Linked DNA regions of Homo sapiens: regions 2, 3 and 4 are each linked to region 1. The links are contacts of gene promoters, found by promoter capture Hi-C in blood cells and fetal thymus (Javierre and others, 2016). All regions are on one chromosome and are shown on one strand. The core of a region is centred on a gene start or on the middle of the fragment in contact, and the rest is flanking DNA. Distances in the headings are between cores, read along the strand shown. Region 1 holds the start of SIGLEC14 (sialic acid binding Ig like lectin 14). Region 2 overlaps ZNF175 (zinc finger protein 175). Region 3 holds the start of HAS1 (hyaluronan synthase 1). Region 4 overlaps FPR1 (formyl peptide receptor 1).

What was found. Contacts are between HindIII fragments. The CHiCAGO score rates a contact against its expected background, and 5 or more counts as called.
Region 2: a fragment that was not itself captured here is called in contact with the fragment with the promoter of SIGLEC14 in region 1 in 2 of 17 cell types (naive B cells and total B cells); the score reaches 8.6 in naive B cells.
Region 3: the fragment with the promoter of HAS1 here is called in contact with the fragment with the promoter of SIGLEC14 in region 1 in 1 of 17 cell types (neutrophils); the score reaches 5.3 in neutrophils.
Region 4: a contact is called between a fragment that was not itself captured here and the fragment with the promoter of SIGLEC14 in region 1, in 2 of 17 cell types (neutrophils and monocytes). The highest score is 6.8, in neutrophils.

The regions. Positions count from the first base shown.
Region 1 is chr19:51,641,787-51,648,074 of GRCh38, reverse strand. It overlaps SIGLEC14 (sialic acid binding Ig like lectin 14), which reads left to right and starts at 1,250. Exons shown (of 7, transcript NM_001098612.3): 1 at 1,250-1,352; 2 at 1,435-1,818; 3 at 2,015-2,293; 4 at 2,545-2,598; 5 at 4,039-4,296; 6 at 4,403-4,538; 7 at 4,678-6,288. The coding sequence starts at 1,316. The coding sequence ends at 4,720. The HindIII fragment of the contact is 8,795 bases long and covers 1-6,288 here.
Region 2 is chr19:51,578,268-51,584,211 of GRCh38, reverse strand. It overlaps ZNF175 (zinc finger protein 175), which reads right to left. Exons shown (of 5, transcript NM_007147.4): 3 at 2,695-2,821; 4 at 2,330-2,425. Among named protein-coding and RNA genes, the nearest start is that of ZNF175, 10 kb to the right of the region's middle. The HindIII fragment of the contact is 179 bases long and covers 3,177-3,355 here.
Region 3 is chr19:51,720,734-51,726,157 of GRCh38, reverse strand. It overlaps HAS1 (hyaluronan synthase 1), which reads left to right and starts at 2,167. Exons shown (of 5, transcript NM_001297436.2): 1 at 2,167-2,233. The coding sequence starts at 2,225. The HindIII fragment of the contact is 33,518 bases long and covers 1-5,424 here.
Region 4 is chr19:51,743,726-51,749,542 of GRCh38, reverse strand. FPR1 (formyl peptide receptor 1) reads left to right here. Exons shown (of 2, transcript NM_002029.4): 2 at 2,538-3,770. The coding sequence starts at 2,549. The coding sequence ends at 3,601. Among named protein-coding and RNA genes, the nearest start is that of FPR1, 5.2 kb to the left of the region's middle. The HindIII fragment of the contact is 6,274 bases long and covers 1-4,745 here.

The DNA of each region.
Region 1 (6,288 bases), core at 1-2,500:
TGGAGTGCAGTGGTGCGATCTCGGCTCACTGCAAGCTCCACCTCCCGGGTTACGCCGTCCTCCTGCCTCAGCCCCCCCAGTAGCTGGGACTACAGGCGCCCGCCACCACGCCCGGCTAATTTTTTGTATTTTTAGTAGAGACGGGGTTTCACCATGTTAGCCAGGACGGTCTTGATCTCCTGACCTCGTGATCCACCCGCCTCGGTCTCCCAAAGTGCTGGGATTACAGGCGTGAGCCACTGCGCCCGGCCTTCTTTTTTTACTGTTCTTCGTGGAGCAGGGGTATGCATAAGCAGTGTGCCCAGAGGAGCCCCCACTAGGATTTTTGACTTACCTTCTCATCCTAAGAGTTTATCCTTTGCTGTATCTCCAGCTCCTAAAACAGGGGGCCTGGTGCACCATAGGCGCCCATGAAGCATCAGTTGAATGAGTGAATTCTCGGGGCCAGACACTGTCCTAAGCACTTTACACATGAGACCTCACTGAATCCCCACACAGCAATTCTATTATTGTCTGCATTTTTCAGCTGAGCAAACTGAGGCACAGAGAGGGTAGGTAACTTTTGTAAAGTTCAACAGCCGGTAGGTGAGGGGTCTGGGTTCACACTTGGTATTCCATATCCTCAACGTTCACATTTCAAATGCCCGGCTCTCAAGCCTCATCTGGCTGTCAACATCAGGGATGGGGTCTGACGCTGCCTGGGACAAGGACAAGGATGAGATGAGGTTCCCAAATCCAACTGGTGGTGGGGACCACATCTCTCTTGACTGCTAAGGACCCGGTCATGTCCACCTGATGTGTTTGTCCCTGACAACTTGCCTTCCCTCTGGAAAGAGGAAAGTCTTCCCCACCTGAAACCCCCAGCGTGTGCTTCCCTCACCACAGCTCCTATCATGTCATAAAGGATTTATTCTCCCATCTCGCTGAGGGTCCCGAGGCCCTGACTCCCAGGGAGCTGGCCAAGTGGTGTTCTCCTTCCTATGTAGACAAAGGTGCATAAGGAAAGTGCTGCAGCTATGGGACCTGGTGACCTCAGGAGTCTAGACTTACAAGTCTGGACAAGCCCCTCTGGGGGCCTCAGTATCTTCACCATCGGCGTCCAGTGGGGGTGGGAGCAGAATGGCTTCCCAGCCCCAGCCTCACCCCAACAGCACGTGATGCCCAAGTTCCCCTTCTGTGCGCGTCCACAGCTCTCACTCACCCTCCGGCTTCCTGTCGGGGCTTTCTCAGCCCCACCCCACGTTTGGACATTTGGAGCATTTCCTTCCCTGACAGCCGGACCTGGGACTGGGCTGGGGCCCTGGCGGATGGAGACATGCTGCCCCTGCTGCTGCTGCCCCTGCTGTGGGGGGGTGAGTGAGCTGAGGGAGGAGGGACAGGCACAGGGGTGAGAAGGGGGGCTGGAGCTGCAGCTGAGCTTCTGTGTCCCCCCAGGGTCCCTGCAGGAGAAGCCAGTGTACGAGCTGCAAGTGCAGAAGTCGGTGACGGTGCAGGAGGGCCTGTGCGTCCTTGTGCCCTGCTCCTTCTCTTACCCCTGGAGATCCTGGTATTCCTCTCCCCCACTCTACGTCTACTGGTTCCGGGACGGGGAGATCCCATACTACGCTGAGGTTGTGGCCACAAACAACCCAGACAGAAGAGTGAAGCCAGAGACCCAGGGCCGATTCCGCCTCCTTGGGGATGTCCAGAAGAAGAACTGCTCCCTGAGCATCGGAGATGCCAGAATGGAGGACACGGGAAGCTATTTCTTCCGCGTGGAGAGAGGAAGGGATGTAAAATATAGCTACCAACAGAATAAGCTGAACTTGGAGGTGACAGGTATGGCAGGAACCCTAGGAGAGGACCCTGGGACGTGGAGACCCCCGTATGAGAACAGGGACAGGAGTTGGGCAGGGGCGGCTGGAGGAGGTGTAGGACTTGGGGCAGGTCGGGGCCTGAGGCCTGGCCACTCTCGGGGTCACACCTTACGTCCTCAAGCCCCTGGGGCCCAGGTATCTCCCTGTCTCCTCCTCAGCCCTGATAGAGAAACCCGACATCCACTTTCTGGAGCCTCTGGAGTCCGGCCGCCCCACAAGGCTGAGCTGCAGCCTTCCAGGATCCTGTGAAGCGGGACCACCTCTCACATTCTCCTGGACGGGGAATGCCCTCAGCCCCCTGGACCCCGAGACCACCCGCTCCTCGGAGCTCACCCTCACCCCCAGGCCCGAGGACCATGGCACCAACCTCACCTGTCAGGTGAAACGCCAAGGAGCTCAGGTGACCACGGAGAGAACTGTCCAGCTCAATGTCTCCTGTGAGTGGTGCTGGGGACACAGCTGAGTCCCCAAGGGCAGTGGGAGTGAGGGGGGTGTGTGTGTGTGTGTGTGTGTGTGTGTAGAAGAGAGAGAGAGAAAGAGAATGATAACCAGGGAAAACTCGTGTGTGGGCAGGAAGGACAGCGGTCCCCACCTGGTGGGTTTCTGTGGCCCCTCCTTGGGTCCCTCCCGGGACCACGCCCATCCCTCTTGTCACCTCTGAAGCTGGTGCTGTATCTTTCTATCCCAGATGCTCCACAGAACCTCGCCATCAGCATCTTCTTCAGAAATGGCACAGGCACAGGTAGGAAAGACCCTCTTCCCTCTGGGGCTGTGATGGGAGCCTTCTATTAGCTCAGGGTTCAGCATTGGGAGAGGAGACCCTCCCTCACCCCTCAGCCCCTGGGTCTGGGTCCTTCCTGCTCCCAACCCCCCAATCCCAGTCACTAAGATCTTGCACGAACAGACCTAGTATTTCTTTTGGCTTCTCCCTTTTCTCTGCTCTCTTTTTCAGATTTATTTTTTCATTGTGAGAAAATACACATAGCACAAAATTTGTCATCTTAGCCATTTTAAAGAGTACAGTTCAGCAGTGTTAAATGTGTTCACATTGTTGCAAAACCAAACTGCAGAGCTCCTTTTATCTGGCAAAACTGAAACTTTGTACCCACTGAACAGCGACTTTCCACTTCCCCCTCCTGCCACCGAGCAGTCACCATTCTACTTTTCTGTCTCTGTGAGTTTGAGTACTCAGGACACGCTGTTCCCTTTTCTTGAATTTCTGCCTGCTCCGATGTCCTCTGATGCATGCCCTGCTTCATCTCTAACTGATCGTCCTTTTTGGGAGCCTTCGACTTTCCCACCTCCCACAGCTCTGTCCCAGAACCCAGTTCTTCCCCTCCACATTCCTGAGTAATCCGATCTCTCCTTGACCCTGTCCTGATGCCTCCCACAACTTTATATCCAGCCCTTTCTCTGAGGCACAGATCTGCACATTTAGCCACCTCCCTCGGATGCTTCTCGGCTCCTCCTTCCCTGTTGATCCCAGGGCTGTTCTGGACATCGCTGTAGACAGCACCCTTTCTCATCAGCTGTTTCATGAGTCCGCAAGTCTTAACACCTTTACTTCACCAATCATCACTTCCCTCCTCATCCCCTTGGTTCCAGGCCCAGCTCAAGTCTCGTGCTCAACCCTGGCCCATTGCCCCAGCCTCCTCCCAGCCTCCCTGCCTCCTATCCCACTTCTCTCCAGTCCGGGACCTACTTGGCTCCAGCAGGATCTTTCTAGATCCAGTGCTAACTCTGTTTCCCTTGCTTATAGCCCCCTCTTGCTTTCCAGGATAAAGCCCAAGGCCCTCAATCTGGCACCCAATGCTCCAAAAGATCTGAGCCTGCTTCTACCTCCATTATCGTGTCTTGGGAGCTCTGGGTCCTCCCTGACAGGTTGCGGATCTAGGAGCCTCTTTCCTCGTCTGCCTGTCTCAGTTCTTGGCACGTCTGCACCTGAGCTGCCCATCCACTTCTCCTTAATGTGAGAACTCCTCCTCATCTGTCTTTTCTCAGCTCAGCCACCTTCTTTCTGGTAGCCTGACCTGATCACCAAGTCCTCATCCTTTCACCCATGACTAGCCCATTCTCAGCACTCACCACACAGTCTTGTCTTTCTTCTTGCAGCTCAGTGGGAGGAATGAGGGAGAATTGGGCCTCCCAGCTCCACTCACCTGGCTGTGCTTCTCTTTCCCAGCCCTGCGGATCCTGAGCAATGGCATGTCGGTGCCCATCCAGGAGGGCCAGTCCCTGTTCCTCGCCTGCACAGTTGACAGCAACCCCCCTGCCTCACTGAGCTGGTTCCGGGAGGGAAAAGCCCTCAATCCTTCCCAGACCTCAATGTCTGGGACCCTGGAGCTGCCTAACATAGGAGCTAGAGAGGGAGGGGAATTCACCTGCCGGGTTCAGCATCCGCTGGGCTCCCAGCACCTGTCCTTCATCCTTTCTGTGCAGAGTGAGTTGCAGGACAGGTGCTGAGGGTAGACAGCCCGGTGAGGTATTCAGGTTGGTGGGAGGGACTGAGGCCTGGTAACAGCACCTTACCTTCTCCTTTCTCCCAGGAAGCTCCTCTTCCTGCATATGTGTAACTGAGAAACAGCAGGGCTCCTGGCCCCTCGTCCTCACCCTGATCAGGGGGGCTCTCATGGGGGCTGGCTTCCTCCTCACCTATGGCCTCACCTGGATCTACTATACCAGGTGAGCCGGACTGCCTGTCTCCAGGAAGCTCCTGAGTTCCAGGTGGGGCTGAGCTGTCCTGCCCCAGGACAGCTCAGCCCCACCTGGAATTAGAACTGAAGTGGCTGGTGCTGATCTGAGGCCCATGTTGGCTCTGCAGGTGTGGAGGCCCCCAGCAGAGCAGGGCTGAGAGGCCTGGCTGAGCCCCTCCCGCTCAAGACAGAACTGAGGTGTGGACACTTAGCCCTGTGGGACACATGCAGGACATCACTGTCAGCTTCTTTCTGGAAGCTCACATCCCACTGACTACCCCTCTTTTCCTTCCTGCCCCATACCCCTTCTACTTATTCCCCTCTGCTTGTGAGTCTTGCCCCACCACACCTGCATCCCCATCTGCACCCCATCCCCTCTCCACCTGCCCTTCTCTTCCCTCTCCATCCACCATCTCCAGCCCTGTGAAGGGAATGTACTTTCGGTCTTATACCCCCATTACCCATTACCCAAAAGTTACCTTTTTTTTTTTTTTTTTTTTTTGAGACAGAGTCTCACTCTGTTGCACAGGCTGGAGTTCAGTGGCACAATCTCCGTTCACTGCAACCTCCACCTCTGGGGTTCAAGCAATTCTCCTGCCTCAGCCTCCCTAGTAGCTGGGATTACAGGTGCCTGCCACCACATCCAGTTAATTTTTTTTTTTTGTATGTTAGTAGAGATGGGGTTTTACCATGTTGGCCAGGTCTCGAACTCCTGACCTCAAGCAATCCACTGCATTGGCCTCCCAAAGTGCTGGCATTACAGGTATGAGCCACCGTGCCTGGCTGCCAAAAGTTACCTTCTTAACACTTGAATTTCTGGTCTCCTCAGCTTCCCTATCCATATAGGCACAGAGAGGCAGCATTTGTTTTCCAGTTAAAACTCTACCTCATTGTGATTATTATCCAATACAATTGTTACAAAATAAGTAAAACTTTTATGAAACAATACAACATAACTGATTTTACTCTTTAATGCCTCTGTGAGAGTTTGTAGACAAAAATTATGTCTTTTTTTTTTTTCTTTGAGACAGAGTTTCTATCTTGTTGCCCAGGCTGGAGTGCAATGGCAAAATCTCAGCTCACTGCAACTTCTGCCTCCCAGGTTCAAGTGATTCTCCTTCTGTCCATATACAAGAAGGCAATACCTGTATTGTCAGGTTCTGTGCATCGTATAACTGGAACCAAACATATTTGCTTTAGGGTCTGCTTTCATTTCTTCAGTGTGGTTTTCCCAGTTTATCCACGTTGTTACACGTATCAATAGCTCATTCTCAGTTTTGGTGGGGTTTTTTTTGCTTTTAATATCGTACAGTCAGCCTTCTGTATCCACTGGTTCTGCATTTTCCCTTTAATCACTTTTGCTGCACCACAAAAGTTTTGTTATGTTGTATTTTTATATTAGTTCAAAATATTTCCTTCTTTCCCCTGAGATTTCCTTTGAATTCACGGATTGCTTAGAAGTGTGTTGTTTAATTTCTAAGTGATTGCAGATTTTACTGGTTTTTTATTTTTAAACAAATTGTTACTACTTTCTTTTTAAGTTCCATTTTAATAAATACACATGCTTGATATGATTTTTTTTAACTTTTAAGTTCAGGGGGCACAAGTGCAGGTTTGTTACATAGGTAAAGTGTCATGGGAGTTTGTTGTACAGATTATTGCATCACCCAGATATTAAGCCTAGTACCCATTAGTTATTTTCCTCATCCTCTCCCTCCTCCCACCTTCCACCCTTTGAA
Region 2 (5,944 bases), core at 2,017-4,516, 66 kb after region 1:
TTCACCAGCATTTGCTATCCATGCTTCCCATGTTGATACACTTACTTTTTGAGTAGCCTTCCATGAAATAGACATGATTGATGCACAAAGGCTAATACTTTTAACATTTAATGCCATTGTCCTCTCCATCCAAATACAATCTCCGTTCTTTTGAATTTATCTCAGCAAATATTTAAAGCATCCTTTTAAAATACTGTGAAATATTCTTTTCTGCCCATTTTCAGAAAATCAGTAATTTCTGTATCCTAAATACAAAAATCCTAATCCTATATCTTAAATACAATGGTTTCCTCATGCTAAACATTGATATAATGAAGATTAAGAAAGTACAAAGTAATCAGCAGAGTGTATGCAAAGTGAATCATTCTATGGAGTAGACATTAAACAACATACAAAAACAATGGAGCAGAGCATGAGTGATGAAAACTATTCAGGTATATTTTTAAATTGGAAATATGTGGCCATGAGGACAATATCACTGAAAAGAATTTGTTAATCCTACACAGTAGGAAATAGAACTGCCTGTTTTTATCATATCTACTGAGGAAAAAAGAAACAAAATAGCCATGTTTGGGGTCATAAAATCTGTCAGTATCTTGACTAAACTCAAAAACCTGAAATCAACATATCTCACTGGGAACAAAATTGTCTAAATATGAGAAAATGGGGATCTAGTTTGTTGTAATACCACTGGGATTAAGAAAAAGGGTCACTTTTTTCTTAATTAAAACAAGAAAAACTGGTAAGAATTCCAAAGTAATAAATTAAATTAGAGGACTGTGTTTCTGAGCCCAGAAACAGAAAAATCTCACAAAATTTATCAGGTGAGAATTCCTTATTTGGATGATGATGATTCCAATTTCTGATCTCCCAAAATTAAGGAAGTGAGTCATCTCATGGGAACTGTCCTCCGTGGAGCTAAGTAAGGTAGCAGAACACAGTTTAAGCACAGGGACTAGAGGTACTGATATATAAATCATTAGAATAAAAATATGAGGACTAAGAGTTCAGAATGGATGGGTCCTTTAAGTCAATTCCTGTGGGAAAAGATGCCCATAGCCGGGCACGGTGGCTCACGCCTGTAATCTCAGCACTTTGGGAGGCCAAGCCAGGCGGAACACCTGAGGTCGGGAGTTCGAGACCAGCCTGACCAACAAGGAGAAACCCCGTCTCTACTAGAAATACAAAATTAGCCGGGCATGGTGGTGCATGCCTGTAATCACAGCTACTTGGGAGGCTGAGGCAGGAGAATCACTCAAACCTGGGAGGCGGAGGTTGCGGTGAGCCAAGATCGTGCCATTGCACTCCAGCCTGGGCAACAAGAGTGAAACTCTGCCTCAAAAAAAAGAAAAGATGCCCATATGGAAGAACAGGGCCCCAAGCTAGAGGTGCCACAACTGGGAGGAAAAGAAGACAGCAGATCCAGCAAAGAAAAGAAAATAAATAAAATTAGGGGCAAAAAAACTGGAAAAAAAAGGCAGAAAACTCCATGGACGTAAAGAGATAAGCGGTAAGAAAATGCAACAAACAAATGAAAAAGCCAATCAGATAACAGATAAGATGAGAGGCTCTCACCATTCAGTTATTAGAAAAATAACACTTAAGCAATGAAACAGGCTGGGTGCGGTGGCTCACGCCTATAATTCCAGCACTTTGGGAGGCCGAGGTGGGCAGATCACAAGGTCAGGAGATCGAGACCATCCTGGCTAACAGGGTGAAACCCTGTCTCTACTAAAAATACAAAAAATTAGCCGAGTGTGGTGGCGGGTGCCTGTAGTCCCAGCTACTCGGGAGGCTGAGGCAGGAGAATCACTTGAACCCAGGAGGCAGAGGTTGCAGTAAGCCAAGATCGTGCCACTGCACCCTAGCCTAGGTGACAGAGTGAGACTCTGTCTCAAAAAAACCAAAACCAAAAACAAAAAAAAATGAAACAGCCCTTTCACCTATCAGTAGGGCTATAAATTCACCAATTTTGTTAATGCCAAGTGTTAGCAAGCAAGATGTGCAAATGCAAATCCTTGTGCACTGCACATGGGGAGTGTGAACTGGTGCAGCCCATCAGAAGAGCAATATGGTTGATTTAGTCAAGTATACTTATCTCCAGGACCAGGCAATCCCATTCCTGAGTATTCACCAATGGAAAATTCTTAAGGCAGCCCCTATAGGACATTTAACATTTATAGCACATTTACAGTGTTTGATGGGAAACTGGGAGTAGGAGGCAATCTACGGGCCATCACTGGGGGAATGGAGGGAATAGAAAAGTATGGTAGACTGGTAATGGTTCCCTGCAAAGATATCTACATTTGCCCGGGTACAACTTACTCACCTTGACACCTCTGATGTGAGACTTCAGCCTCCTCCACACGCGGCTCCTTTTCTTTTAGCATTCTGAAGATGACCTCTGGGTTGGGAATGTGATACCCTGTTAATTAGAAAGGATACTGGATTTGGGTGTAGCTTCTTCAGTTTTAGAGGCCATTCAATGAAGCTTTACACTGGCTCATTAGAAAAGTCAACATTTTCCACTGGGCACAAAATAATACTAGAAGGTGCCCAAAAGAAACAAACAATCCAGGACAAACCGATAAAAGAGTCATGACATACTTTGATATCCCACTGCGTTCTGCAATGAGGAGGAAGGAAATCTCCTCAACAGGATCCAGCCAAGATTCCCAGGTCAGTTGTGCTCACCCACTGCGAAGAGATGGCTATAGAGCTCCAGCATCACATCCCGGTACAGGCATCTCTGGGCAGGGTCCAGTTGCTGCCACTCCTCCCTGCTGAAGTCCACGGTCACGTCCTCAAATGACACTGATGCCTGTAACAGTGTACCCCAGCTCACTGTGAATTAGGTCATCATTGGCGAGTGGGGATGGCACATATAGGAGGAACATGCTTTTAATGATTTTCACCACGATCCATCACAGAGGCTTCCCACCAAACACCTATTTCACATTTTTAGGGATTTAAAAAAAAATAAGAGAAATATCCTCCATCCACTGTACACCTACATTCATTCATTCATTTTTTTTTTTCAAAAATGAGGCCAGAAATGGGTTCCCTCTAAGTCCTTTAGCTAATTTAGGAATAACCAGCATGATGTTGACGAAGCAACTACATGTGAGGCTGTAGTTGAGCTGGGTTCTGGTGCTCAACACAGAATTACATAAGCTTCTACTCTTGCAGCAACTCAGAGACTTGGAAGACATGTAAATACAAAAGCTCAACTACAGGGTTAAAAAGGGAACATGGTAGAAATATATGCAGAGGACACTGTTGGGGAAGGGCAAATTAGGGAAAGGCAAATTCTACCTAGGAGTAGAAGGTAATGCTACTTAGAGTTGGTGAAGCTTACGCTGGAAGTAAGAACTGTGATGCAGGATGTGTGAAGGAAATCATTTTCCAGAAAAGAGCATGAATAAAACTAGAGAGGTAGGAAAACACTGTGAATTCAGGGAGAAGCAGACAGCTCTGTGTAAGATAAGAGGCGACTATGTCATGTTTGGAAGGTGGTTACCATCCAAGCTCCAAAGAAGTGGGCTGGTGCCTCAATATATAATGGGTATGGATTATTTATTTTAATGAACGGACTGCCATTTCAGGATTTTAAGTGCAGGGAAGAGATATGATCATATAATATTTCAACAAGATGATCTCTCCTGTAATAACTAATATTAGGTTAATGAAAGGACTGATGATGGAAAGATCTTCATTACAGAAGTACTGCAGATGATAAATGCAGCCTGAAGGACAAAACAAAAATGTCACTGTTACTGATCACCAATGACTGCTAAAACCATATGAAAGACTGATGGGTCTTTATAATGGAGGAGTAGGCTGACAATATCTGAACCCAATCATCAATTTTATCACAAGGAGAGAGATAACCAGATATTAAAGTGCACCTAATATGATGCAAAATAAAAAAATAAAAGTAGAGAGGTAGGAAAATACGTGGTGTGCAAACTATTAAGTATCATTTCCAAAAACAAAGAAATCCAAGTGGACTCTGATCAAGCCTCTAGAGGAGAGCCATCCAATGGAAATAAAACATGAACCGTGAATGTGAGCCACACATATAACTTAAAATTGTCTAGTAGCCATGTTTAAAAGACAGATAAAATCAATTTAATGATATTTTTACTTAATCCATTATATTCAAAACATTATCATTTCTATATGTAATATTTTAATATTACATATATTAAAACATTCTATATTCTATATATTGAATATTCTATATTCAATATTTTAAAAATCATCGAGATGAGATGCTTTACATTCTGTTTTCATACTAAGTTTTCAGAAGTCAGCATATATTTTATACTTCAAGCACATCTCAGGGTGAACCAGCCGCATTCAAGTGCTCAATAGCTACATGTGGTGAGTGGCTACCATACTGGACAGCACAGGTCTACATTTAAATACCAGTTCAGAACAGATGTTGGGCATATACCCAGGGGTGGAATTCTGGGTCATGGGAAAAACATGCTCGCCTTTAGTAGAAAATTAGAAATCATTTTCCAAATTGGTTGTACCAATTTATATGCTTACCAGCAGCACACAAAATCCTTCTGGTTGCTCTGTATCCTCACCTACATTTGGTATTATCAGTGTTGGTAACTGTATGCATTTTGGTACAGGCATGGGAGTTACACTGGCAATTCCCAGATGACTAATGAAGCTGAGCATCTTCCCATGTTTACCAGCCTATTCAAGCAAGTCTCTTCTTCAGTTTTCTACTGGGTTAAAAAACACTTTTCCTCAAAAAAAAAAAATTTTTTTTGGGAGATAGAATCTCACTCTGTTGCCCAAGCTGGATTGCAGTGGCACGAGCATGGCTCACTGCAGCCTCTGCCTCTCAGACTCAAGCGATCCTCCTGCCTCAGCTTCCCAAGTAGCTGGGACCACAGGCGTGCACTACCATGTCCAGCTTTTTTTTTTTTTTTTTTTTTTTGAGATGGAGTCTACTCTGTCACTAAGGCTGGAGTGCACTGGCATGCTCTTGGCTCACTGCAGCCTCTGACTCCTGGGTTCAAGCGATTCTCCTGCCTCAGCCTCCCAAGTAGCTGGGATTACAGGTGCCTGCCAACATGCCTGGCTAATTTTTGTATTTTTAGTAGACACGGGGTTTCATTATGTTGGCCAGGCTGGTCTTAAACTCTGGCCTCAAGTGATCGGCCCATCTCTGCCTCCCAAAGTTCTGAGATTACAGGTGTGAGTCACCACACTCAGCCTTAATTTTTGTATTTTTTGTAGAGATGGGGTTTCAGCATGTTGCCCATGCTGGTCTCAAACTCATGAGCTCACACGATCCACCCACCTTGGCCTCCCAAAGTTTTGGGATTACAGGTGTGAGCCACTGCACGTGGCCATTTCTGTGTTTCTGAAGGAGTATCTCATTGTCCTGTAAACCTCTCAGGTCTTTTGTTTTTGTTTTTTGAGACAGGATGTCACTCTGTCACCCAGGATGGAATGCAGTGGTGCAATCACAGCTCACTGCAGCCTCGACCTCCGGGCTCAAGTGATTCTCCCGTGTCAGCCTCCTGAGTAGCTGGGATCACAGGCACACACCACCACACCTAGCTAATTTTTCTATTTTTTGTAAAGATGGGGTCTCCCTATGACGCTCAGGATCGTCTCAAACTCCTGGGCTCAAGCAATCCTCCCATCTTGGCCTCCCAATGTGCTGGGGTTATAGGCATAAGCCACCACGCCCAGCCGTCCTCAACGTTTTATAGGAACCTTTTGTCAGCTGTATGTGTAACAAGAATCTTTTCCCATTCTGGGGCTTGCTTCTTTTTTTTTGAGATGGAGTTTCACTCTTGTTGCCCAGGCTGGAATGCAATGGCATGATCTTGGATCACTGCAACCTCCACCTCCCGGGTTCAGGCGATTCTCCTGCCTCAGCCTCCCAAGTAGCTGGAATTACAGGCACCCG
Region 3 (5,424 bases), core at 918-3,417, 77 kb before region 1:
AGGCCCAGGCAGAGGCTTGGCCTGGCGCAGCCTCCTCGGGGAAAACCCCAGGGTGTGAGGACTTGGTGTGAGGACTTGGTGTCTGGCAGGGGAGAGCTCCGGGACAGGCTGGAAGAGATGGAACTGCAGGGAGAGACGAAGATGTAGAAACAGAGAAATGGAGAGAAACTGAATGAGAGAGACAGAGACAGAGAAACACATACAGAGATAGAGCCTTACAAAGAGATAGGTGCGGTGGCTCACGCCTGTAATCCCAACACTTTGGAAGGCCAAGGCAGATGGATCACTTGAGGTCAGGAGTTGGAGACCAGCCTGGCCTACATAGTGAAACCCCATCTCTACTAAAAATACAAAAAATTAGCCAGGTGTGGTGGTGGGCGCTTGTAGTTCCAGCTACTCGGGAGGCTAAGGCAGGAGAATCGCTTGAACCCGGGAGGCGGAGGTTGCAGTGAGCCGAGCTCACGCCACTGCACTCCAGCCTAGGTGAGAGAGTGAGACTCCGTCTCAAAAAAAAAAAAAAAAAAAGAGAGAGATGGGGATGCAGAGAGACGGAAGGAGGATAGAGACAGAGCTAGAGAGGGAGGGAGATAGAGGGAAAAAGAGACAGAGAGAAAGAGACACACACACATGGACACACAGTGAGAAAGTCAGGGAGAGGCACTCAGAAAGAAAGAGAGCCACACAAGAAGAAAGTCAGGGAGACTTCAGAAATGCAAAGGGACAGACACTCCCAGGTAAAAGCAGAGAGAGAATGGCTGTGAGGGGGGATGAGGAGGAGAAACAGACAGGAATACACAGAGGCAGAGACCCAAATAGAGGGACCGAGAAACAGAGATGGGGTGACAGATACAAAATGACAGAGATTTGGGGAGGGACAGACGAGGAGAGAGAAGCACGGGGGAATTTCTCTCTGCTGCTCCATGTCTTTCAGCCTGTCCTGGAGCTGGCCCGTGCCAGACACCAAAGGTCGTTGGAGTCACAGGCAGGGAGAAAAGAACGAGGCAGCTACCGAGGCAGCTACCAAGGCCGAAAGTGAGACATCAATAGTTCACAGTAAGAGGAGCAGAGAGAAGAACAGAATTAGATACAGATAGTTTTTTTAAAAAATTCATGGAAAGAAGGGCATGTAAACAGACATTTATCACAGATCTGGTCCTGAGGGGCTGGGGTTCGGGCACCCCAGGTCCCGCATCTCTTTTCACCCTTCCTCTGACTCAGTTTCCCTGATGGGTGACAGCACTGACAGACCCCGGCTGGCTCCCCAGGGTCAGCTGACCGACAACTCTCTGTGTTCATCCCTGAGTCCCTGGGGATACAAATCCCAGCGCCCCAGCTCTCCACCCCAGACCCTGGTGCACACACGCAGACCCACGTCAGTTAGGCGCTGAATGGACAGATGTTCACTCACAGCTCCGGTTCCAGGCAGCCGTGCCTCGGGCCAGCGTACACACAGGCACACCCACAGCACGCACGTGTGTGAGTTTCGTTCCATCTGCCAGTTGCTGAGACATGTCCCTGGGGGGCCCAACCCAGAGATGGATTCTGGGGACAGGAGAGGCGGCTGTGGGGAGAAGCAGGGCGGGGGTGACTGGGGAAGGTGAGAAGGGGGAGGTGGGGAGAGCTTTAAAGCAAGAAGAGAAAGAAATGAGGGTGAGAGGAGGCAAGAGAAGTGGAGAGGAAGAAAGGGATGGAGAGAAAGACAGAAACTTGGAGAAATGTGGTAATGGGGAGAGAGATGAGGGTACCAACAAAGAGATGAGGAGAAATAGTGGGTTAGGGAGAAAGAAAGGGATGGAGGGAAATACAGGGATAGGGGATGGGGGGATGAGGGGAACCCCCAAAATGCAAGTGAGGTGGAAGAGAAAAATCAGGGGAGACAAGGGACGAGAGGGGGGAGGAAGAGAGAAGAAGACATAGAGGAGGGAGGGAGAGGAGGGGGAGTGATGGCAGAGAGGACTAGAGGAGGGGCGCGGGTAGACATGGGGGCCTGGGAAGGGAGGCCCGTCTGGCTGAGGGGGGTGGGAGTAATAGCGGGAAGCGGGTGGAGCTGCCCGGCTGGGCCGTGACCTCAGAGCCCCTGGCCCAGCTTAGCCTGACTGACGTCAGCGCTCGCTCCCGCCCCCGCCTGCGCTGGTCTTCAAATGACCCCCCTCCAGCTCTCTGGCCACAGAGAGGCTGGGAGAGCAAGCCGGAGAGAAGAGAGAGCCCGGCCAGACCCACTGCGATGAGACAGGTGTGTGTGTGTGTGTGTGTGTGTGTGTGTGTGTGTGTGTATACAGCCATGTGGGGAAAACTACTGCCATATGTGTGACCACGTGTGTTGGGGAACTGTGTGTGCATGATTTCATGTGTGTATCCATGTGCCTGACAGTGACCATATGTGTGTAGGGGACAGTGAGCATGTGAGGCTGAGTGTGCAGGTCTGTGTATACATTGCCCTGTGTGAGCGGCCATCCCAAGTACATGTAGGTGAGACGTGCCATGTCCGTATTTCTGTATCTGCGTATCTTGCTACAAACTTGTGTATGTCTATGTTCCCTGGGAGGCAGAGAGAAAGAGGGAGTGCGACAGTGAGCGAATGAAAGAGACTGAGTGAGAAAGAGAGTTGGATTTGCCTGTGGCACATGGGAATGGATTTCTGTTTCATGCGTTCAATAGCTATTAAGTTGAACCAAATGAAATCGCCGATACTGAGCCACTCTAAACTTGGAAGAATAGCAATTTCATCTGGTTCAGTATCAGCTTGACAGTCACCTACTATTTCTCTTGAAATCTTCCCTGTGCATCCCATTGCCCCAGACTCTCAGTTGGGGCTCTGTGTGTTTGTGGCCACGTGGACATCCTTTGCTGGTGTTGCTTTTTCCTGCTGAGGGGTGTGTGTCTGCAGGTTCACCTGTGTGGCCGTCGGTGGGGGTCACGGGATCGCTGTGTTTGGCCTGAGTGGGTGTCTCGGGTCATCCTGTAGAACACGAGTAATTTCATTCTGTGTGTCACTCATCATGTGTGAGTTCACGTGTGGGGGAGTGTGTCTACACGTGTGTTCATCTGTGTTTCTGGAATCAACTCTCTGGATCCCCAGCATGAATTGAGCCATCCCTAGGAACTCAGGCAAGGCCAGGTTTGAAGCAAAGGAAGAGAGAAGGGGGATTCGAGAAGAAAGAATAATGTTTAATGTTGAGAGTTTAAAAGCTGTACCTCAGTTTTGTCCTCTAGAAATGTAACGAAAACCACAATATCTAATTTAAAATTTTCTTGTGGCCACATTTGAAAAAGTAAAAACAAACAGGTGAAATTAATTTTAATAATATATTTTTATTTAACCCAGTGTGTCAGGGGCCAGCACATTTTTTTAAATAAAGGGCCCAATATTAAATATTTGAGGCTTTTGGGGGCCATCTGGTCTCTTTTGAAAGTACTCAACTTCGATGTGGTAAATGTAGAATCAGCCACAGATGATGTATAAACAAATGAATGTGGTTGTATGCAAATAAAACTTCCTTTAAGGACACTGAAATTTGAATTTCATATTTTTCATGCTCCACAAACTATTATTCTTCTTTTGGCTTTCAAAAACCATCTAAAAACACACACACAAATTCTTAGCCTGCAGGCTGCAGCAGGTCTTAGCATGCCGACCCCTGCTACATATAAGATATGATCATTTCAATATGTAATCAATACATAAATGTTAATGAGCTATTTTACTTTCTTTTCCCCAGACTTGGCCTTCAAAATCCAGTGTGTTCATAGCACTTCTCACTTAGATGCTACCTTTTCACTGGAAATACCTAATCTGTGTTTAGATTTTATAAGATTTACAATTATAAAAGGGGCATCGTAGATGCAACTTGTTCCAGACATATTTAAAATCTTTCCAATAACCGAATCAAGTAAGAGTTTTTAAATTTAAATGAATTAAAATTAAATAAAATTTAAAACTCAGTTCCTCGGTGATACTGGCTGCATTTCAAGTACTCGGTAGACACATGTGGCTGCTGACACCTGTGTTGGACACAAAGATCTACATCTTAACGACGCATTTAAATAACCCACAGTAAGCCTTGAGGCAGGAACTGGTGGCATAGGAGGCAGTTTAGCGTAGAGGGGACGCCAGAGCCAGACTGCCTGAGTTTTACTTCTGACTCTGCTTATTACCTGAGTGACCTTGGGTAAAAGTATTTGCCTCTCAGTGTCTCAGTTTCCTCATCTGTAACAGAAGACAGTGAAGGTACCTGCCTTATAAGATTGTTGTAGAGACCGGGTGCAGTAGCTCACGCCTATAATCCCAGCACTTTAGGGGGCCAAGGCAGGAGGATCGCTAGAGCCTGGGAGTTCGAGACCAACTTGAGAAACACAGCAAGACCCTGTCTCTATTATTATTATTATTATTTCGAGATGGAGTCTCGCACTGTCACCCAGGCTGAAGTGTAGTGGTGCCATCTTGGCTCACTGCAACCTCCACCTCAGGGGTTCAAGCAGTTCTCCTGCCTTAGCCTTCTGAGGAGCTGAGACTACAGTCGTGCGCCACCAAGCCTGGCTAATTTTTGTATTTTGCTTTCGCCATGTTAGCCAGGCTAATCTCGAACTCCTGACCTCAGGTGATCCACCCGCCTCCGCCTCCCAAAGTGCTGGGATTACAGGCGTGAGCCACAGTTTCTGGCTCCCTGTCTCAATTTAAAAAAAAATTTATATATATATATTAAGGTTGTTGTACAGTAGTGTCTGGCACACAGAAAGTACTTTTTCCTCTGATTCTGGGCTCTTCCAGCAACATTTACTGGGGCACCTGGCTCTGCTGGGGAGTTGGGCAGTGGAAAAGGAGAACCAGGCTATGCCTCTGGAAAGTCAGAGAGAAGAGTCCTCTACCATGGGCTGCTGATCTTGTGCAAGCCACTCCTTCTGGCCAATCAGTCCTCAGTTTGGCCACCTGTATGGTGGCAGAGCACTATCTGTCCCCCAGGGCTCTCCCGAGGGCTAGAGGTTTAGAGATTCAGTTCCTAGGGTTCAAATCCAGGTTCCTCTGCTTTCCAGGGACAACCTTGGGCAAATTGCTGAACCTCTGTGTGACTCAGTTGCCTCATCTGTACAACGGGGATAATAATAACAGTACCTACCTTACAGCGCTGTTGTAAAGATTAAAATAAATTCATTCATCTTAAAGGCTTAGAGCAGGGACTGGTACACAGCATTTTGGTTTTTTAGTATGTGTTATTATTATTACTGTCTCAACCCTAAGAAACCTTTGATTGGGAGATAAATCCTCATTGTATGTGCCACTAAGAAAGAGGAGGGAAACGCCCTAGTAATTAAATTGTGACACTCCATCGCATGCAATCATCCTCACGGATTTAAGAGATTTCAAAACGTGGAAAAAAGTTGTATTGGAAGAAACAAAATCAGGCTGGGCTTGGTGGCTCATGCCTG
Region 4 (5,817 bases), core at 359-2,858, 100 kb before region 1:
TCACGGTCTTCTACATCCCCAAGAGTGCTGAGCCCATCCAATGGATGGAGAAGCACCTCCCATCCATCTGGCCAAGGTAACCGCAGAGACGAGAGTGGAAACAGAGTCTGTTGTTCTGACTTCTTCTAGCACAGAATCCATTGGATATAATACTTGATTATACGTCGTTTAGTATCACTCACGGATCCATTTGACCTATGTTGGAAAACTAACCAAGTACTATGCCTTGCTTCCCACGATGAGAGAGGAAAGGGAGATTTCATGACCTTAAAGAGAGAGAGCGAGCAGAATTTGGAGTGGAGAAGTTGCATATCTTTTTTTTTTTTTTGAAACGGAGTCTCGCTCTGTCGCCCAGGCTGGAGTGCAATGGCGCAGTCTCTGCTCACTGCAACCTCCGCCTCCCACGTTCAAGTGATTCTCCTGCCTCAGCCTCTGGAGTAGCTGGGACTAAAAGCACCCACCGCCATGCCTGGCTAATTTTTGTATTTTTAGTAGAGATGGGGCTTCTCCATGTTGGCCAGGCTGGTCTCGAACTGCTAACCTCATGATCCACCCGCCTCGGCCTCCCAAGGTACTGGGATTACAGGCGTGAGCCACTGCGCCTGGCTGAGAAGTTGCATACCTTATAGTTCTTATGCAGTGTTATGGGTGAGAGAAAGTCTTAGTCCACGTTTGTGTGACACTAGGTCACTGAAGCTGTCGCCCACTGATTTTCTGATATCTTATGCTCTTATTTTTCCTTTATTAAATTGATGGTAAAATACAAAAAGTTAACCATTTTAGGCTGGGCACAGTGGCTCACGCCTATAATCTCAGCACTTTGGGACGCCGAGGCGGGCAGATCACCTGAGGTCAAGGAGTTTGAGACCAGGCTGGCCAACATGGTGAAACCCCATCTCTACAAAAATATAAAAATTAGCTGGGCATGGTGGCAAGTGCCTGTAATTCCAGCTACTCAGGAGGCTGAGGCAGGAGAATCACTTAAACGCGGGAGGCGGAGGTTGCAGTGAGCCAAGATCGCACCACTGCACTCCAGCCTGGGTGACAGAACGAGACTGCGTCTCAAACAACAATAAAAAAGTTACCCATTTAAATGTACAATTCAATGGCATTAAGTACATCTACAGTGTGTTGCAACCATAACCATTATCTAGTTCCAGAACTTTTTAATCACACCAAGCAAAAACTGCATATTCATTAAGCAACAATTCCCCACTTCCTAGTTTCCCCAGTCCCTGGCAATCACTAATCTGCATTCGGTCTCTGTGAGTTTGGCTACTCTGGATATTTCATACAAGTGGAATCATACAAAATGTGACTTGTGGTGTCTTCCTTCCTTCTCTCCTTCCTTCCTCCTTCTTTCCTTCCTTTCTTTTTTCTTTCATTTTAGAGACAGGGTCTTGCTTTGTTGCCCAGGCTGGAGTGCAGTGGCTCAATCATAGTACACTATTAACCTTGAATTCCTGGGCTCAAGTGAGCCTCCCATCTCACCCTTCTGAGTAGCTAGGACTACAGGTGTGTGCCACCACATCCAGCTAATTTAATTTAATTTTGTTGTTGTTGTTGTTAGAGATGAGGATCTTGCTATGTGGCTCAGGCTGATCATGAACTCCTGAGCTCAAGCAACCCTCCTACCTCGGCTTCCCAAAGCTCTGAGATGACAGGCGTGAACCACCACATCCAGCCCTCTTTTGTTTAGAGTAATGTTTTCAAGGTTCAGCCACGTTGTAGCATATATCAGTGCTTCATTGTTTTTTATGGCAGAATAATATTCCATTGGGTGGATAAACCACATTTTGTTTATCCATTCATCTGTTGATGGACATCTGGGTTGTTTCTACCTTTTGGCTATAGGGAGGAGTGTCTCTATGAACATTTTTGTTTGAATACATGTTTTCTCTATACATCTTTGGCCCCATATTCTCCTCTTGGAGGTCAAGGACCCTATCTTCCTTAGCCATTTAATCTCCCTGGTAGGGGCTTGCATGTTAGCAATTATGAGGATGTGTCATAAGATGCAATCTTGGCCACACGTGGTAGCTCACGTCTGTAATCCCAGCACTTTGGGAGGCTGAGGTGGGTGGATCACCTGGGGTCAGCAGTTCAAGACCAGCCTGGCCAACATGGCAAAACCCCACCTCTACTAAATATACGAAAATTAGCCAGGAGTGGGGTGGTGCATACCTGTAGTCTCAGCTACTCAGGACGCTGAGGCAGGGGAATTGCTTGAACCCGGGAGGTGGAGGTTGCAGTGAGAGATCACGCCACTGCACTCCAGCCTGGGTGACAGAGCAATATTCCATCTCAAAAAAAAAAAAAAAGATGTAATCTTGCCCAACAGGTACAATAAAAGATTGCCAATGTATAGATGTGGGCATGTGTAAGGGACAGTGGTGAGGATGTTCCGGCTGTTGTGGGAGCTCTAGGGGAAGGTGAGAAAGCTAGGAGTGGGAAAACTGGCAGGGGCAGAAATGAGGGGGTGGGGAAATGGTACGGAGGTTCATAACTGAGGAATGACCACGACTGCACTATTTCAGGAGCAGACAAGATGGAGACAAATTCCTCTCTCCCCACGAACATCTCTGGAGGGACACCTGCTGTATCTGCTGGCTATCTCTTCCTGGATATCATCACTTATCTGGTATTTGCAGTCACCTTTGTCCTCGGGGTCCTGGGCAACGGGCTTGTGATCTGGGTGGCTGGATTCCGGATGACACACACAGTCACCACCATCAGTTACCTGAACCTGGCCGTGGCTGACTTCTGTTTCACCTCCACTTTGCCATTCTTCATGGTCAGGAAGGCCATGGGAGGACATTGGCCTTTCGGCTGGTTCCTGTGCAAATTCGTCTTTACCATAGTGGACATCAACTTGTTCGGAAGTGTCTTCCTGATCGCCCTCATTGCTCTGGACCGCTGTGTTTGCGTCCTGCATCCAGTCTGGACCCAGAACCACCGCACCGTGAGCCTGGCCAAGAAGGTGATCATTGGGCCCTGGGTGATGGCTCTGCTCCTCACATTGCCAGTTATCATTCGTGTGACTACAGTACCTGGTAAAACGGGGACAGTAGCCTGCACTTTTAACTTTTCGCCCTGGACCAACGACCCTAAAGAGAGGATAAATGTGGCCGTTGCCATGTTGACGGTGAGAGGCATCATCCGGTTCATCATTGGCTTCAGCGCACCCATGTCCATCGTTGCTGTCAGTTATGGGCTTATTGCCACCAAGATCCACAAGCAAGGCTTGATTAAGTCCAGTCGTCCCTTACGGGTCCTCTCCTTTGTCGCAGCAGCCTTTTTTCTCTGCTGGTCCCCATATCAGGTGGTGGCCCTTATAGCCACAGTCAGAATCCGTGAGTTATTGCAAGGCATGTACAAAGAAATTGGTATTGCAGTGGATGTGACAAGTGCCCTGGCCTTCTTCAACAGCTGCCTCAACCCCATGCTCTATGTCTTCATGGGCCAGGACTTCCGGGAGAGGCTGATCCACGCCCTTCCCGCCAGTCTGGAGAGGGCCCTGACCGAGGACTCAACCCAAACCAGTGACACAGCTACCAATTCTACTTTACCTTCTGCAGAGGTGGAGTTACAGGCAAAGTGAGGAGGGAGCTGGGGGACACTTTCGAGCTCCCAGCTCCAGCTTCGTCTCACCTTGAGTTAGGCTGAGCCACAGGCATTTCCTGCTTATTTTAGGATTACCCACTCATCAGAAAAAAAAAAAAAAGCCTTTGTGTCCCCTGATTTGGGGAGAATAAACAGATATGAGTTTATTATTGACTTCTTTTTTGATTTTGGACCTCAGCCTTGGGTGGTCAGGGTGGGAAATGATAGGAAGAAGCTGTCATCTGCATCCTAGTTTGCCTGAAATGAACCCAAATAATACCCATTATTATTAGTCCTGAATTATGAGTAGTGAATGATACCCATCATTCTGGCATCATGATGAGTAGTGTCCACTTCCATTCTGAAAAGTGCCCTGCTGTGAAAAATAAATTATATAGTCATCCTAGGTAAATGAAGGAGGAGGGAGAAGTGTGAAAGAGTATGGCTTAAATCAGACAAGATATACAAGAAGATACTTTATATAGGGCAGGAGCGGTGGCTCATGCCTGTAATCCCAGCACTTTGGGAGGCCGAGGCAGGCGGATCACCAGGGGTCAGGAATTCGAGAACAGCCTGGCCAACATGGTGAAACCCTGTCTCTACTAAAAATACAAAAATTAGCTGGGCGTAGTGGCAGGCTCCCGTAATCCCAGCTACTCAGGAGACCGAGGCAGGAGAATCGCTTGAACCTGGAAGGCGGAGGTTGTAGTGAGCCAAGAAAACGCCACTACACTCCAGCCTGGGTGACAGAGAGAGACTCCGGCTCAGAAAAAAAAAAAAAGAAGATACTTTATATAAAGTCCTCAGCCTTTATCGGTCAACAACTCAGTAAAAATATAAAGTTATCGAGATGTCAGCTGAAGACCCCTCATTTCCTTGAGATCTACCTGATGCCTAATCTTTTATATAATAAATTTTGGGAAACAGATTATCCTCTCCACAAGGGAGGGCCCCCAGGGCCCGTGTTTTTACCTGTGGCTCTAAGTCTTGCTTCAACTGAGTTAGTCCAGTTCACACAATGTCTGGTGGTTGCTGCCCTGATGAAATTAACCCAGAGAGGAACTCAGACATTTCCTTCAATTTACTGAAAAGCTACCTGCACAAGGTATTTAAATATGAAACACACTTTACAGAAAGAAGCTTGGAAATGTTAGAGTATGCAACTGGCCAGCAACGGACAAACATGAAAGCTTCCAGTTGAACTTAAGACATCCTTTTAAAAGTCCACCCTCCCTCTTATCTCCTCACCTCCAGATTCCTGCTTTTTTTTTTTTTTTTTTTTTTTTTTTTACAACGCAGAGAAATTTAGCCATCCTACCCTTGACTCTGACTCTTTATCCCTCAGGTCTCCTTTCCTAACTCAAGTCATTTATCAATAACAGTATCCTCCTTAAGAAGATTTCTGGTGCCAGCTCTTTTTTTTTTTTTTTTTTTTGAGACAGAGTCTTACTCTGTCGCCCAGTCTGGAGTGCAGTGGTGCGATCTCAGCTCACTGCAACCTCTGCCTCCCGGGTTCAAGCGATTCTCCTGCCTCAGCCTCCAGGTTAGCTGGGACTACAGGCGCCCGCCACTGCGCCCGGCTAAATTTTTTTGTATTTTTAGTAGAGGTGGGGTTTTGCCATATTGGCCAGGCTGGTTTTGAACTCCTGATCTTGTGATCCACCCGCCTCAGCCTTCCAAAGTGCTGGGATTACAGGTGTGAGCCACCACACCCCATCAAGAAGATTTCTGTTGTCGGCTCTTGAATAATCATTTAATTACCATTACAGACATCATCATTTTATTGTATTTTATTTTATTTATTTATTTATTTTTGAGACAGAGTTTCACTCTTGTTGCCCAGGCTAGAGTGCAATGGCACAATCTCGGCTCACTGCAACCTCCACTTACTGGGTTCAAGCGATTCTCCTGCCTCAGCCTCCAGAGTAGCTGGGATTACAGGCATGCATCACACCTGGCTCACTTTGTATTTTTTAGTAGAGATGGAGTTTCTCCATGTTGGTCAGGCTGGTCTCGAACTCCTTACCTCAGGAGATCTGCCCGCCTCAGCCTCCCAGAGTGCTGGGATTACAGGAGTGAGCCACTGCGCCTGGCCATCATTTTATTATAAACAAGAAACAGAAGAGAAATGGAGAGAGAATGAATAGAAAGAAGAGAGATGAAGGAGAAGCTTGGAGCATCCAGAATTAACTTACAGCAGAACCTGTCTTTGGG